Linked DNA regions of Homo sapiens: regions 2, 3 and 4 are each linked to region 1. Evidence: promoter capture Hi-C in 16 types of primary human blood cells and fetal thymus (Javierre and others, 2016). All regions are on one chromosome and are shown on one strand. Each heading gives the region's core, a stretch centred on a gene start or on the middle of the fragment in contact. The rest is flanking DNA. Distances are from core to core; before and after follow the strand shown. Region 1 holds the start of APOL6 (apolipoprotein L6). Region 2 holds the start of APOL1 (apolipoprotein L1). Region 3 holds the start of APOL3 (apolipoprotein L3). Region 4 has its middle 19 kb from the start of APOL4.

Region 1 (3,578 bases), core at 784-3,283:
ATAGCTAATTTTTGTATTTTTAGTAGAGACAGGGTTTCACCATGTTGGTCAGGCTGGCCTCAAACTCCTGACCTCAAGCGATCCACCTGCCTCAGCCTCCCAAAGTGCTGGCATTACAGGCGTGAGCCACCGCGCCCGGTCCGAGAGTGTGTTTTAAATCACAAGAGACTAAGGGGCCTTCAGGCAAGTTTGTTTCTTTTCAGCAGGTCTTGGGTCCCTTGAGGGAAGGGAAGTGGACTCTAGGAAATTAAGCGACTCCCTACTTTTGTTCATCTGAGCTATAGGGTGGATGTTTTCTGTCCCCTTACATAAGCAGCACTTCCTGCATTTGGCTACAGAACATTTTTCTCACATGGCATCTCTTGGGGCGATTGTTTCACAAGAGCCCTGGTGGTAAACACTGCCCCCATCCAATGGCCGGTCTGGCCCCTGAGACTCCCAGGACCGAGCAGTGACCACAACATCTGGGTCCGTTGCCAGGGAAAACAACAGGCAGGCCTGGGATGGCTCAGCGGCCCCAGCCAGGCAGCCAAGTCCTCCTCAAGGTCAGGCTGTGTTTAGCGTGTTCCCCAAGTGTGGGAGGCCAGGAGCAGGGGTGGGTTGTGGAATCCGGGATGCCACGGTTGGAAAGGCCCCTACAAGACCCAACTCAGCAGCCCTTAACCCCTCATTCCTGCTCGTAGGGCCCAGGGACAGGAGGTGGCCTCTATCACAGCAAAGCCAGGACTGGCTAGGTGGGCCGCACCTTCTGCAAAGCAACAGCCTCCAATGTGGTCTCAGCTAGGGGTGGTGACTGGGGACTTCTGGGCATATAAATACAAACAAACCACATGGCTTCTGATCACAATTTGACACAAATGCTAGAGAGACACAGATCTCAGCCCGTAACCTCACTGTGGGCTCATTCTTGTAGACACAGAGCCTAGGACTGGTTCTTAGCTGTGTAATCACAAACAACCCACAACTTCTAGAAGCCTGGGTTTCCTCTTCCTTAAAGTGGGAGACAGAGTATCACAATCCTATATCTCCAATCCTTGAGGCCAGATGCATGTCAGAGTTCCTGATTTGGGGGATTTTTAGAAAGGTAATGGGGTGCAGGTATCGTGTACTATGTAACCCACGCACCCGCAGCAGCCCTCCTCAGTCAAACATATTAATATTTCTGCAGTGACTGTAAATATTCAAATTAAGCAGGAGACATAAAAACCACAGGTGAATTCATGCCAGATCAGGTCAGGTTTTGCCACTAAATGAATAAATTATCATTTTTTTTTAAGTTTTCATTCTGAGGCCAGGTGCGGTGGCTCACGCCTGTAATCCCAGCACTTTGGGAGGCCTAGATGGATGGATCATTTGAGGTCAGCAGTTTGAGACCAGCCTGGCCAACATGGCAAAACCCCATCTCTACTAAAAATACAAAAATCAGCCGGGCGTGGTGGCAGGTGCCTGTAATCTCAGCTACTAGGGAGGCTGAGACAGGGGAATAGCTTGAACGTAGGAGGCGGAGGTTGCAGTGAGCCGAGATCGTGCCATTGCACTCCAGCCTGGGCAACAGAGCGAGACTTCATCTCAAAAAACAATAATAATAATAATAATAAAATAAAGTTTCCATTTTCAGAGGATTCTGCATTCAGAGTTATTAGCCCTTTAATGCTGTGCACCTCATAGGGTTGTTACCCACATCAGCGTCACGTAAGATGCTGTGGAGGAAAGCAGTTTCAGAACAATCAGTGATGACAGCTACTGTGAATCCACTATTCAACAGGCGCCCCATCGCTTGCTCATGGGCTCCTCACCATAGCTCTAAGCCACAGGAGCTATTTTCATACCCCATATAGGTCCATCCTATAACACAGCCAGGACAGAGACGAGAGACTCAGGCCTCCTGACTTGGATTCTGCTCTTTCACCTCCTTGTTCATCCAATTAGAGAAACTGGCAAAAAGGAAACTGAAAGTGACAGCTGGAGCCCATGATTTCCTGGAAGAGCCCTAGAGCTTTGCTTTTTCTCTCCTGCAGCACTTAACCGAAACCAGTTTTGCAATCAATTCCTGTTCAAAGGCCACCCTACTCTTCCTATCCGTCTTTCTCCAGCCCAGACACTCACAGCCCCCTGCCAGACCAGGGGACCTCGGAGAGGCAAGGACAGAGGTTCAGGATCTTCCTCTCCCTCGGGACCCAAGGCCACAAAGGAGAGCTCCGTGGAGAGAAGGTGAGACGGCGGGCAGAAGTCGGGGGAGGAGGGGGCTGCCGCTCTGGTCCCTGAAGGACAGAGCCCCCAAGGGGTTGGCTTTAGGCACCTGACTCAGGGAAAAGAGCTGCTGTGAAAGCAGCGGGGTTCAAATGCCAGCCAGAGCTTGAGGAGAGTCTGAGGATTAACTTCTCCTGTGTTAATCCTGGTAGGTTTCCCTCCCTTACAGCCATTTCAGGGTTAAATTGAAACATGCTAAAGCATGCGATGTGACTAGCCAAGTTGCATTTGTCCCTCCACTGCTGGGGATCCGAGGGCTTAGGCAGAGGGGACCTGGCCCTTAGAAAGCAGATGATTACATCAGCCACAGGCGTTTCCCTAGAAATTCAGTAGAGGAGTGGTTTAGGGGTGTCATCTCACAAGAAAAAAGGTGCTGGGTGAGTTGTCTAGAAACTGCAAAGCCAACCTACAGAGTTTTCTAGATTGTAGATTTATGTGAAGTTGTTTGGGGAAGAGGGTGAGGGAGTTTGTGATAAATATTAGGGCGACTAGGCCAGGCGCAGTGGCTCATGCCTGTAATCCCAGCATTTTGGGAGGCTAAGGCAAGCGGATTGCTTGAGCCCAAGAGTTTGAGACCAGCATGGGCAACATAGTGAGACCCCGTCTCTACAAAAAATCAAAAAATAGCTGGGCGTGATGGTGCACACCTGTAGTCCCAGCTACTTGGGAGGGTGCTGAGGTGGAAGGATCACTTGAACCCAGGAAGTCAAGAATGCAGTGAGCAGTGATCGCACCACTGCACTCCAGCCTGGGCAACAGAGTGAGACCCGGTCTCAAAAAAAAAAAAAAAAATCTAGGGAGGTTATCTTGAAGCTGTGTTTTCAAAGTAAGCAGATTTTTCTTACTTAGATTGTGTATCTGCAGAAGTTGGTTTTGTGGGGGAAGGCAGGTAAGGAAAGACTGTCATAAATATCCTGTAAGCTTTCAAATGAAAGTAAGTTCTCAAATCCTCTTCCAATAAACCTCTCACAAGCAAATCCTCTCGCAACCACCAAGAGCAGGTCAGAGGGGATGGAATGGGACCTGCTTAGATGAGTTTCCTGCTGTTACCTTTGCCCTGCATCCCATAGGACTAATGTAAAAAAATGAGAGAGGTATTGGCGGACGCTGGTAAAAAATGGGGTTCCAGACCAGAGTCTCTTACCCCCAGCAACCTTGTCATGTTCAACCAGGTGATCCCTGGTTGTGGGGGCTGTCCTCTGCATCGTAGGGTGCTTGGCAGCATCCCTGGCCTCTGCCCTCTACATACCAACAGCAGTACCCTCTCCAGCTGAGACCATCAAAAATGTTTCCAGATATTAGCAGTGTCCCTGAGGAGCAAACACGCC
Region 2 (3,350 bases), core at 82-2,581, 600 kb after region 1:
AAGTCTTGCCTCCTCCCTGAGTTGCTGGATGAAAGCAACGTCCTCTCTTCTTGCCTCAGTTTCCTCATCTGCAAAATCAGATCATAATCCTGGCCCATTGAGGGGATGATTATAAAACTCAATCAAATGGAGAAGCATTTGCAAATGGAATGTATTGCAAAGTGTATTGTGCAGTCCCTGTGTAATCACCATTCTCTTCCTGCCTCATAAGCTGGTGTGTGTGTGTGTATGGGTGGGGTGAGGTGGACACGATGCCCCCAGAGATGTTTGCTCAGGATGAAATAGGCCCCCATGGAAGGGTCAGGTTGGCTTCTGTGGTTTAGCTGCCTTTGAGGCCCTTCTGCCTGGGGCAAAGCACAAAAGTCCAATAGCAATCTGGTTGCATGACTTCCTAGTCATGGAAGTGTGGCTGAGCAGTGGTCTCTAGTCCCTCCACCCTGTGTGCCTCGGGAGTGGAACACGGGGCAGTGGCCTCTGCTGGGGAGGATGCTGGGGGATCTCTGAAAGGAGGCAATGCCTGATTTTGTCACTGAACGATGAGCATGATTTTTCCAGGCGGTGGAAGCAGGTGCTCCCGGCAGAAGACCCCATATAAGCAAATATCTAGAAGCCACAAGGCATGGCCTTCAACAAGAGCAGGCCTGGTGCGGTGGCTCATGCCAAGGTGGGAGGATCACTTGAGGCCTGGAGTTCAAGAGTAGCCCAGTCAATATAGTGAGGCACCATCTCTAATATAATTTTTTTAAAAATTAGCTGGGTGGTTGGCTGATACCTGTAGAACCAGCTACTCAGGAGGCTGAGGTGGGGGGATGGCTTAAGCCCAGGGGTTTGAAGCTGCTGTGCGCGATGACTGTGGCACTGCAATTCAGTCTTGGTGACAGACTGAGACCCTGTCTCAAAAACATAACCAAAATAACCCCAACGGCATTACAATAAATATACAATAAGCATCCACAAGGCATGTGTGGGAGACTGTGCTTATGCCGATGGCACGGGCAGGAGTAAGGCAGGCATCAGGGGAATGTGGATGCACGGGAGGATGGGGAGTAATCTGCAGGGTCCCATAGTATGTCAGTGGCAGGTCTTTCTCCTTGAGACCACAGCAGACCCCCAGCCCTGAGGATGCGAGGCAGGTGGGTTGGATGAGAGGGATCTGGATGTCTGGTCTCAGGCTGCTCCTCTAAGGGCAGCAGCAAGGAGGGTGGGGCTGGACTGAAGGTGGAGGGGAGCGTGTTTGCTGTGCTTGGTCATGAGCTGCTGGGAAGTTGTGACTTTCACTTTCCCTTTCGAATTCCTCGGTATATCTTGGGGACTGGAGGACCTGTCTGGTTATTATACAGACGCATAACTGGAGGTGGGATCCACACAGCTCAGAACAGCTGGATCTTGCTCAGTCTCTGCCAGGGGAAGATTCCTTGGTAAGTTGGGGACAGTTGACCTGCCTCCATCTTATTCTCACAGCTTTTGTAGATAAGCTGGGAGAGGTTAGGTGACTGGTTCAGATAGACAGGAAAGTAGCGGCAAAGCCTGGATTTGCACCCAGGCTTGAGTCTGATTGCTTCCCCTCTCCTGCTGGGCTCTTAAACTATAGAGGGTTGGGGAAACAGCTCAGATGGGTTCACAAAGCTCCCTGGGCTCAGCCCTGGTTTTGACTGCTGAGACACGACTGAGTGAACCCAGAAGGAAGGTTTGTGTTGGGGGTGCCCATCTCTTTGGGAAATTTGAAGGAACCAAAGAAGGTGGAGGAGAGGAGGTGACCCAGATCCCAGCCTGTTCTTATGGCCAGGCCACACCAAGGCTGGCCCCAGGGTGCTGCTGCTGAGGCCCAATGGGGGCAACAGAATTTTTTTTCAGGTACAAGGAGTTCAGAGGTCATCTCACCCACCCTGAGTCTGAGCACCAACTTGTGCCAGGCCCTGTGGGGAAACTGAGGCCCTGGGAGCGGAATGACTTGCCCAGGGTCCCGTGTCAGGAGGCTGAGCAGGTAGATCATAGGACTCCACGTCTCTGGCCCTCACCTCTGTCCCTCTGTTCAGACTTCTGGGGTGATGGAGAAGAAACAGGCTGTGCTGTGTCCCTAATGGGAAACGTGGCTGAGACAGGGGAGTGAGAAGGGTGCGTTGCAGAATGGTGCCTGTGGCATGATGCCAGCTTTGCAATCATGAGATTCAAAAGCCACACTGTGGAATTGTGAGTATAACTACAGGAGTGAGAGCTTAGATCTCTGTGTTCATAGAAGGAGAATCAAACCTGGAAACTTTTGGATTATTAAAATCAAACATTTTTGCTTCAATATTAGAGTCACAAGGGCAGATGTTGGCCTCCCCTCTGCCCTCCAAGAGCTGTGTGACTCTGGGAAATTCACCTCCCCTCCCAGCCTGAGTATTTTCCCCTGTAAAAAACCTGATAGAGCTGCCAAAAGTCCATGAAATCAGGGGGGTAATTTCTGTGAAATCTGAGTCATGGTCTTATTTGTTCTTCACCAAAAAGAGATGATGAAGCCTGTAACCCCAGTGCTGTGGGAGGCAGAGGCGGGAGGATGACTTGAGGCCAGGAGTTCAAGACAGCCTGGGAAACACAGGAGATGCTGTCTCTATGAAATCAAAAATTAACAAATTAGCCCAGCATGGTAGTGTGTACCTGTAGTCCCAGCTACTCAGAAGGTTGAAGGAGGCGGATCACTTGAGCCCAACAGATCTAGGCTGCAATGAGCTAGGATGGTGTCAAAGCCCTGCAGCCTGGGTGACAGAGCAAAACTGTTTATTAAAAACTAAACGAAAGGCCGGGCGCGGTGGCTCACGCCTGTAATCCCAGCACTTTGGGAGGCCAAGACAGGTGGTCACGAGGTCAGGATATCGAGACCATCCTGGCTAACATGGTGAAACCCTGTCTCTACTAAAAATACAAAAAAATTAGCCGGGTGTCGTGGCGGGCACCTGTAGTCCCAGCTACTCGGGAGGCTGAGGCAGGAGAATGGCGTGAACCCGGGAGGCAGAGCTTGTAGCGAGCCTAGATCGCCCCACTGCACTCCAGCCTGGGTGATAGAGCGAGACTCCATTTCAAAAAAAAAATGAAATGAAAATGGTGATTTCTCAGGAGGAGCACACTGTCTCAACCCCTCTTTTCCTGCTCAAGGAGGAGGCCCTGCAGCGACATGGAGGGAGCTGCTTTGCTGAGAGTCTCTGTCCTCTGCATCTGGTGAGCTTGGCTCAGAGCCCTGAGGCGGGAGGGAGGGCTCCCTGTCTGGGCTGCACAATTGGACTGGGCTTGGGCTGGGCCAGGGCCATCTGGGCTTCTTCTAGGAACCAAAGTCACTTCCCGGAATTGACCAACCGGCAGACTCGCCCAGG
Region 3 (3,563 bases), core at 49-2,548, 510 kb after region 1:
ACCTCACCCCAGATGGGGTCAGCAGCCTGCTGGGGGTCAGCAGGGTAGGGCATCCTAACCCCCTAAGGCAGGTGAAAAACCCTGAGGCTCAGAGAGGGGAAGTGACTTCCCCAGTGTCACACACCTCTTGGAGGGCAGGGGGAAGGTCAACACCTGACCTCCTGACTCTGACATTGAAGCAAGAAAGTATAATGTTAATAATCCAAAATCTTCCAGGTTTGTTTCTGCTTCTACAAACACAGAGGGCTAAGCTCACGCTCCCACAGTTATGCTCACGCTTCCACAGTTTGACTTTTAATCTCATGATTGTCAAGCTGGGATCATGTGGCAGACACCATTCTGCAACATGCCGTTCTCACTGCCCCTGTCTGGGCCATCTTTCCCACTAGGGAACAGCACAGCTTCTTTCTTCTCTATCACCCAGAGGCCTGAAAAGGAACCAGGTGAGTGTCAGGGACATGGAGTCCTGTGATCTACCTGCTCAACTTCCTGACATGGGACCCTCAGCGAGTCACTCATCTCCCATGGCCTCAGTTTACCCACAGGGCCTGGCTCAAGTAGGTGCTCAGAGTCAGGGTGGGTGAAACAACCTCTGGGTTCCTTGTTATCTCTTTTCGCTCTCTCTCTCTTTTTTTTTTTTGAGACAGAGTCTCACTCTGTCAGGAGTGCACTCAGGCTGGAGTGACTGGTGCGATCTCGACTCACTGCAACCTTCATCACCTGGGTTCAAGTGATTCTCATGCCTCAGCCTCCCAAGTAGCTGGGATTACTGGCTTGTGCCACCACGCCCAGCTAATTTTTTGTATTTTTAGTAGAGGCAGGGTTTCTCCATATTGGCCAGGCAGGTCTCGAACTCCTAACCTCAAGTGATCTACCCGTCTCGGCCTCTCAAAGTGCTGGGATTACAGGCATGAGCCACCGCGCCCAGCCAGGTTCCTTGTATCTCAAAGGAAATCCTCTGTCCCCATCGGGCCTCAGCAGCAGCACCCTGGGGCCAGCCTCAGGGTGGCCAGGCCACAAGAAGGACAGGCCAGGCTCTGGATCACCTCCTGTCCTCCACCTTCTCTGGTTCCTCCAAATATTCTAAAGGAATGGACAGTCCCAACATCTGCCTTCCTTCTGGGGTCACCGGGCCATGTCTCACGCAGGCTGGAACTAGAGCTGAGCCCTAGGAAGCTTTGTGAACCCAGCTGAGCTGATTCTGCCTCTGTCTCTACTGTTTGGGGGCCCAGAGAGAGGGAGGGAGAAGTCCAGCTAAAACCTGGGTGCAAATTCAGGCTCTGCCATGGACCGAGATGTGACCTCAGTCAGTTACCTAACCTCTCTGAGCTCATCTACAAAAGGTGAATGACCCTTCTCTTATAGAGCTGCTGTGAGGATGGGGAGATGGGGAAGGTCAGACCACCCCTAACTTACCAAGGAAGCTTCTCTTGAAAGAGTGTGAGCAAGATCCAGCTGTTCTGAGCTGTGTGGATCCCACCTCCAGCCGTGCATCTGCATAATAACCAGACACGTTCTCCAGGCTCTGAGATATACCCTGGAACCCAAAAGGGAAAGTGAAAGTCACAACTTGGCAGCAGCTCCTGATCAAACATGCAAAACAGGATGCTTCCCAGCCCCACCCTTGGCCCAGTCCCATCCTTGGTCCAGCAGCACCCTTGGTCCCACCCTCCTGCTGATCCAAGAGCAGCCCCAGACGTCCTTCTTGGCCAACCCACCTGCCTCCCATACTTAGGGTTGGGGGTTTGCTGTGTCTTCAGGAAGAAAGACCTACCACTGAAAGACTATGAGACCCTCCAGATTACTCCCCACCCCCAATAACACCACACTCCCCAGATGCCCACCTCACTCCCTCCATGCCATCAGCATTACCACAGTCCATCACACATGCCGGGTGGACGCTTATTGCATATTGATTGTATTGCTGTTGGGGTTATTTTGTTGTTTTGTTTTGTTTTGTTTTTGAGATGGGGTCTGGCTCTGTCACCCAGGCTGGAGTGCGGTGGCACAATAATAGCTCACTGTAGCCTCAAATTCCAGGGTTCAAATGAACCTCCTGAGTAGCTGGGACTACAAGCATGAGCCACTCGGCCTGGCTACTTTTAAAAAATGATTTTGAAGGGGTGAAATCTTACTATTTTTACCAGGTTGGTTTCAAACTCTGGCCTCAAATGATCCTCCTGCCTCAGCATGAGCCACCGTTCCAGACCTGCTCTTGTCGAACGCCATACCTGTGTGGCTTCTGGACACTTCCTTATGTGGGTTCTTCTGCCAGGAGCACCTGCTACCTTCACCTGGAAAAGTCACGCTCCTCTATCAGAATGCAAATCTAGCATTTCCTCCCCTGAGAAGCCCCCTAGCATCCTCTTCAGCAGAGCCCACTGCCCCATGTTCCACTCCTGTGGCACTTTTGTTAGGCTGTTGTAATTGGCCACAGTCCCAGGTTGACTGAACAAAGTGGGGGGCGGATGTGGGAGTAAAAGACAAAGACAAAAGAGTATATTAGGAAGAAGGGGTCAGGGGGTTCCTTGCTTCTAGTGAACAAGGGCTCTGAGCTTTTCAAGCTCTCTGAGTTTATTAGGTAAAAGAGATGACGAGAAAAAGGTGGGGGGGTGATTGTCAGGTAATTGTCAGTCAGCCGTTTGGTTCACAGCAGGCTTGCAAGACTGCATCCTTCAAATAATAGGTGCTAGATATCCCAACAGATAACTTCAAGGAGCCCAGCACCAGGGAGTGATGGCCCTCAGGAAACCTTCTGGCGGCGGGTGCAGTGTGAGTTTACCCACATCCCGCATTCATGATAAACAGTTTGCTGTTTGATCATATAGCCTCCAGTGAAATGCTGAGTTGGTCACAATCCCTTTGGCCTTTTCAGCTCCCAACAGGCAGTTAAGTAGACATTAGCAGCTGGGAGGAGAAAAGAGAGCAGAAAGCCTGTCACTGCAACAGCTCCTGGCCCACCTAAGTTCAGCCCCAGAGCCATTCTAAGACCCCCCTAACTGATGAAGTTGGTGGTATAGTTTGTGGCCAGCACATCCTGAAGAAAGAGAAACTAGGGCACAGGTGGAAATTCCCTAAAGGGGCACATGCCCAGTAACATGAAACTGTGCCCTCAGGTCACCCCAAGTTCATTATACCATCATTATAATAAAATGTGGTTTTATTATACAAAAGCCCCAGAGTGGGCTTTTCTGTGAAAATTATGGGTAAAAACATGCATTGCCTAATTTTAGTTATATAACCATAAACTGCCAATCAGATGACATCGTCCTTTACTCAGACACAGCCCCAACCTCAACTTCTCTCCACAAACCGCACAGAAGCACCTTAAACTCTATATAGAGGGGCTGACTTCACTTCACAGAAATTAGCCCACTGTCCCTCTGAGAGTGTCTAACTGTGCTTCAATACACTTTGCTTTGAGCTTGCATTTTGGAGTTAGCCTGCAATTGTTTGCTCACTCTCAGAAGAACTGAGATTACTGGTCCAGAACTCCAGCTCTGTTAATCTCCTCAGTTAAAGGATCCATCCCAGCGCAGAATTCCTGGTAATATCTTAGTGCT
Region 4 (3,305 bases), core at 284-2,783, 530 kb after region 1:
TGAGGAATGAATATCCTCCAGTAGCCCAGTAAACCTAGGAAAACCTGCAGTTGCTTTACTGTCTGAGGAACAGCATGGATGCGGGCTTGATGGTCCCCTGGGGCCCATCGGAGTCTCTTCCCAGGAAATTGGAGGACCTGAAGGAAAACCCTTAGAGGCAGCAGGCAGTGGAGCTGAGGCCTGAAGAGGAGCTGGTTTCCCACTGCTGACACCCCTGAGGCTTTCCGGATCCCTGGTCTTCCCTAAACCTGGCTTTAAAATTGCCTGTGTGTGTGTGTGTGTGTGTGTGTGTGTGTGTGTGTCTGTCCATACATGTGTGTGTGCACACCCATAGATTTCTTTATTTATTTAATTCTGTGAGCTTTCTCTCTGGATTCTTCCAATACATGTCTCTACTGCAGAGTTAGCCAGAGGATTTTAAAAAGCTTTCGCTTCACTTTTGTTCTTGCATTTGCTTTTGACTTTGTTTTGCTTTGCGCTCTCCTTGCTTCAAAAAAAAAATGTTAACTGATACAAACATTGTCCCAAAGAGTTGGTTGCAGATCACAGGCCCTCAGATGATTGGCATATTTGGAATAAGTTTTCAGGCTGAGAGGAGGGCAGAGCAACAGTGAGCCACCCCCAACCCCAGCATTCCGGGGAGCACCTGCTGTCATCTTGTGGAAAGGGGCAAGGAACGCTGGGACCTGAAGCAGGATAGGTCACTTCAGACAAATGCCTGGCTTTGACATTTTTCCTGAAGGCGTCTGATAAATTGTGGCTGTTGATATTTTTGGCTGACTTTCCTATGAAAAGCAAATTCTGTAGGTTTCTGGTTACATGATAAATTTCGTCCTCGCCAGATCTTCTAAGCGCACATGAGGGCCCTGATAGGGAGAGAGTGGTGTGTTAGCTCCTCCCCTGCTGTAACAAAGCACCACAGACACAGTGGCTCAAACCAACACGAAGTTCTTCTGGAGCTCAGAAGTCCTAAAATCAAGGTGTGGGCAGAGCTGCGTTCCTTCTGGAGGCTCTGGAAGAAGAAGCCATTCCATTGCCTCTTCCAGCTCTTGGAGGAAACTGCTGGCCTTGGCTCCTGTCTCCTTCCTTCCTCTTCAAAGTCAGCCTTGTAGCATCCTCCGATCTCTCCCAGTCTCTCTCCCCTTCTATCATCTCATCTCCTTTTCTCCCTCTCACCCTACTGTCTCTGCCTTAGAAGGACCCTTGTGGTTACATTGGACCCACTTAAAGAATCCCAAATAATCTCCCATCTCCAGATCCTTATCTGGACGATAACTGCAAGGTCCCTTTTATGATGGAAGGTGATATAATCGCAAGTCCCAGGGTTAGGACATGCACATCTGTAGGGGGCTGTTATTCAGCCTAAAACAAGTTGCATCAAGAAAATTACGATGGGGATATCAAGGAGTTTGAAGAATCCCAACTCGTAGCCATGTCTAAGGGCTTTTCTGAGGTACAGGCCCCGCTAGAGGAAGCTGCTCCAACTCTGTTCCTGTCTGCTCCTGCCCCACTCTCTGTTTCTAGACAGCCTGCGTTCAAGTCATTGTGGCCCAAGACTGAACTGCAGAATGGAAAGGAGTGAGGCGCTGCAGCAGAAGGAGCTCGCTGTCAAAGCTCCAAAGAGCCGGAGACCATTTGCAGGGTGGGGTCTGAGGGAGGTTGGCAAGGAAAGGGGAGCATCATGTGGATTCCTTTCCATAGTTGTCATGAGCTAACACACTTCGCCCCAACAGCTGGCTTAGATTCTAATTGTGCCCAGGACTGGCCATGCAACCCTTGAGTAAATGCTGGCCACCTCTCTATGACACCAAAAGGCCAGAAATTACCTGGCATGATAAAGAAGAAGGAGTCAAGTGTATAGGAGACCGGAGGGTTAGACTGGATTTCTCAGGCGCTTTCTGCCCTGACTGTGTGCTGCCAGGGCCCAGGAGATTCCCCTTTCCTTTGATGAGAAGAATCAGTGGATATTCTCTAGAGCTCTCTAGAATGGGGGAGGGGCTAGGACCCTGGTCTCTTTAGGGTGGGAGAAATTCCAAGAGGCAAACCCTAGGGTGAGGCAGGTGGTGGCCAGAAGAAAAGAGTGTGGACACCAGGTCAAGAAGCAGGGAGGGCGCATGATCTGGGCTCAGGGACGTTCCACATGCAGAATCCAGCAACAGAGCTGGTGGACAGTCTACTGACTTCGCAAAACCCCCAGTCTGGTGAGCAGGCACCTGTCACAGGTCATCATGCTGGATGGCCCCTGCTTGTCACTCAATTCTCAGGCCTGACTCATAGCACAGACCCAGAGCCCTTGAAGGAAAGGGAGGCCAGGAGTCTGCAAAAGGCCCCGTCATTTCCCATAAGTGCAGCCTGTGAGCGTTCCTCCTACCTGTTCTCCCTGGACCTGGAGCGTCCCCTCAGATCACAGGGGACGGCTTAAAGGAAACCCATCCCCAGGACTGTTGGATCCCATCCAGACTGACACCAATTCCTGGGACCCATAATGACCCAGAGTGCCACTGTGGTGTTCCAGTCAGAGGGGGGGTTACAGGGAACAAGTAATGAATGAATATCTGATTTCAGTTTACTTTTCAATAAGTCTATCACCTGGTTATTATTTTTTAAATTCCTGGGTGGATAACTGGAATGCATATTCTTGGAAGCTTCAGATTGTTCACGTAGACCCACGGATGATGACTATTTCAGTGACAGACGCCGGTGGAAGCCGTTGGTTTTACATACCTGCCTAAATATTTTAATCAGAGTCAACAGCAAATTCATGGAGGAGTTAGAGAGATTGCTGCCATCATCAAGGTTTAAAGGGAGCAGAAGCAGTGATTCCTGTGACTCACCTGTTCACCTCTTCAATGCAGCCAGTCGTCAGCAGGGAAACAACTGTTTGTCTTCCAACAGCAGAACAAAGCAGGAAGCTCATCAGTAGAAGCTGCCATTCCTAAGGTGTTCTTGTTAATGAAGCAAATAAACACAGCCTGCAGCTCTCAGTCTCTATCAATCAGGCTTCTTGGTCAAGCAGAGGTACCATCTCTGGTTTTTAAGGGCAGAAAACAACATGAAATTCACTGGAATCATATCAGAAGAGCCCCACCTGCAGAGGAGGCTGGAGTTTGGCTTGGAAGATAAAAAGAAGCCAAGACAGTGACACGGTATCAAGGCTGCGAGCACAAGAGCCCTGCTTTGTGAGGAGTGACACGGCCACAGCGCTGCCCCGCCACCTGCGGACATCATCTCTGCAGGTGCAGGACTCGGTCGCCCTCTTCTCTATTCTCCTCCTGGGCAGTCCTGCTGCTCTCACTGAGAATGGG

What was found. The method cuts DNA at HindIII sites, captures the fragments that hold promoters and counts their contacts. A CHiCAGO score of 5 or more calls a contact.
Region 2: a contact is called between the fragment with the promoter of APOL1 here and the fragment with the promoter of APOL6 in region 1, in 8 of 17 cell types (M0 macrophages, non-activated CD4 T cells, monocytes and 5 more). The highest score is 9.0, in M0 macrophages.
Region 3: a contact is called between a fragment that was not itself captured here and the fragment with the promoter of APOL6 in region 1, in 12 of 17 cell types (activated CD4 T cells, naive CD4 T cells, non-activated CD4 T cells and 9 more). The highest score is 11.7, in activated CD4 T cells.
Region 4: a contact is called between a fragment that was not itself captured here and the fragment with the promoter of APOL6 in region 1, in 3 of 17 cell types (naive CD4 T cells, erythroblasts and M1 macrophages). The highest score is 6.3, in naive CD4 T cells.

Annotation. Positions count from the first base shown.
Region 1 is chr22:35,646,413-35,649,990 of GRCh38, forward strand. APOL6 (apolipoprotein L6) reads left to right here and starts at 2,034. Exons shown (of 3, transcript NM_030641.4): 1 at 2,034-2,211. RefSeq lists an enhancer at 1,739-2,038. The HindIII fragment of the contact is 8,876 bases long and covers 1-3,169 here.
Region 2 is chr22:36,251,802-36,255,151 of GRCh38, forward strand. It overlaps APOL1 (apolipoprotein L1), which reads left to right and starts at 1,332. Exons shown (of 6, transcript NM_003661.4): 1 at 1,332-1,418; 2 at 3,136-3,198. The coding sequence starts at 3,155. RefSeq lists enhancers at 1,385-1,444, 3,194-3,350. The HindIII fragment of the contact is 9,856 bases long and covers 1-3,350 here.
Region 3 is chr22:36,159,253-36,162,815 of GRCh38, forward strand. APOL3 (apolipoprotein L3) reads right to left here and starts at 1,503. Exons shown (of 4, transcript NM_145639.2): 1 at 1,417-1,503. RefSeq lists enhancers at 2,422-2,995, 2,947-3,106. The HindIII fragment of the contact is 248 bases long and covers 1,175-1,422 here.
Region 4 is chr22:36,181,416-36,184,720 of GRCh38, forward strand. No RefSeq gene overlaps it. Among named protein-coding and RNA genes, the nearest start is that of APOL4, 19 kb to the right of the region's middle. The HindIII fragment of the contact is 2,220 bases long and covers 424-2,643 here.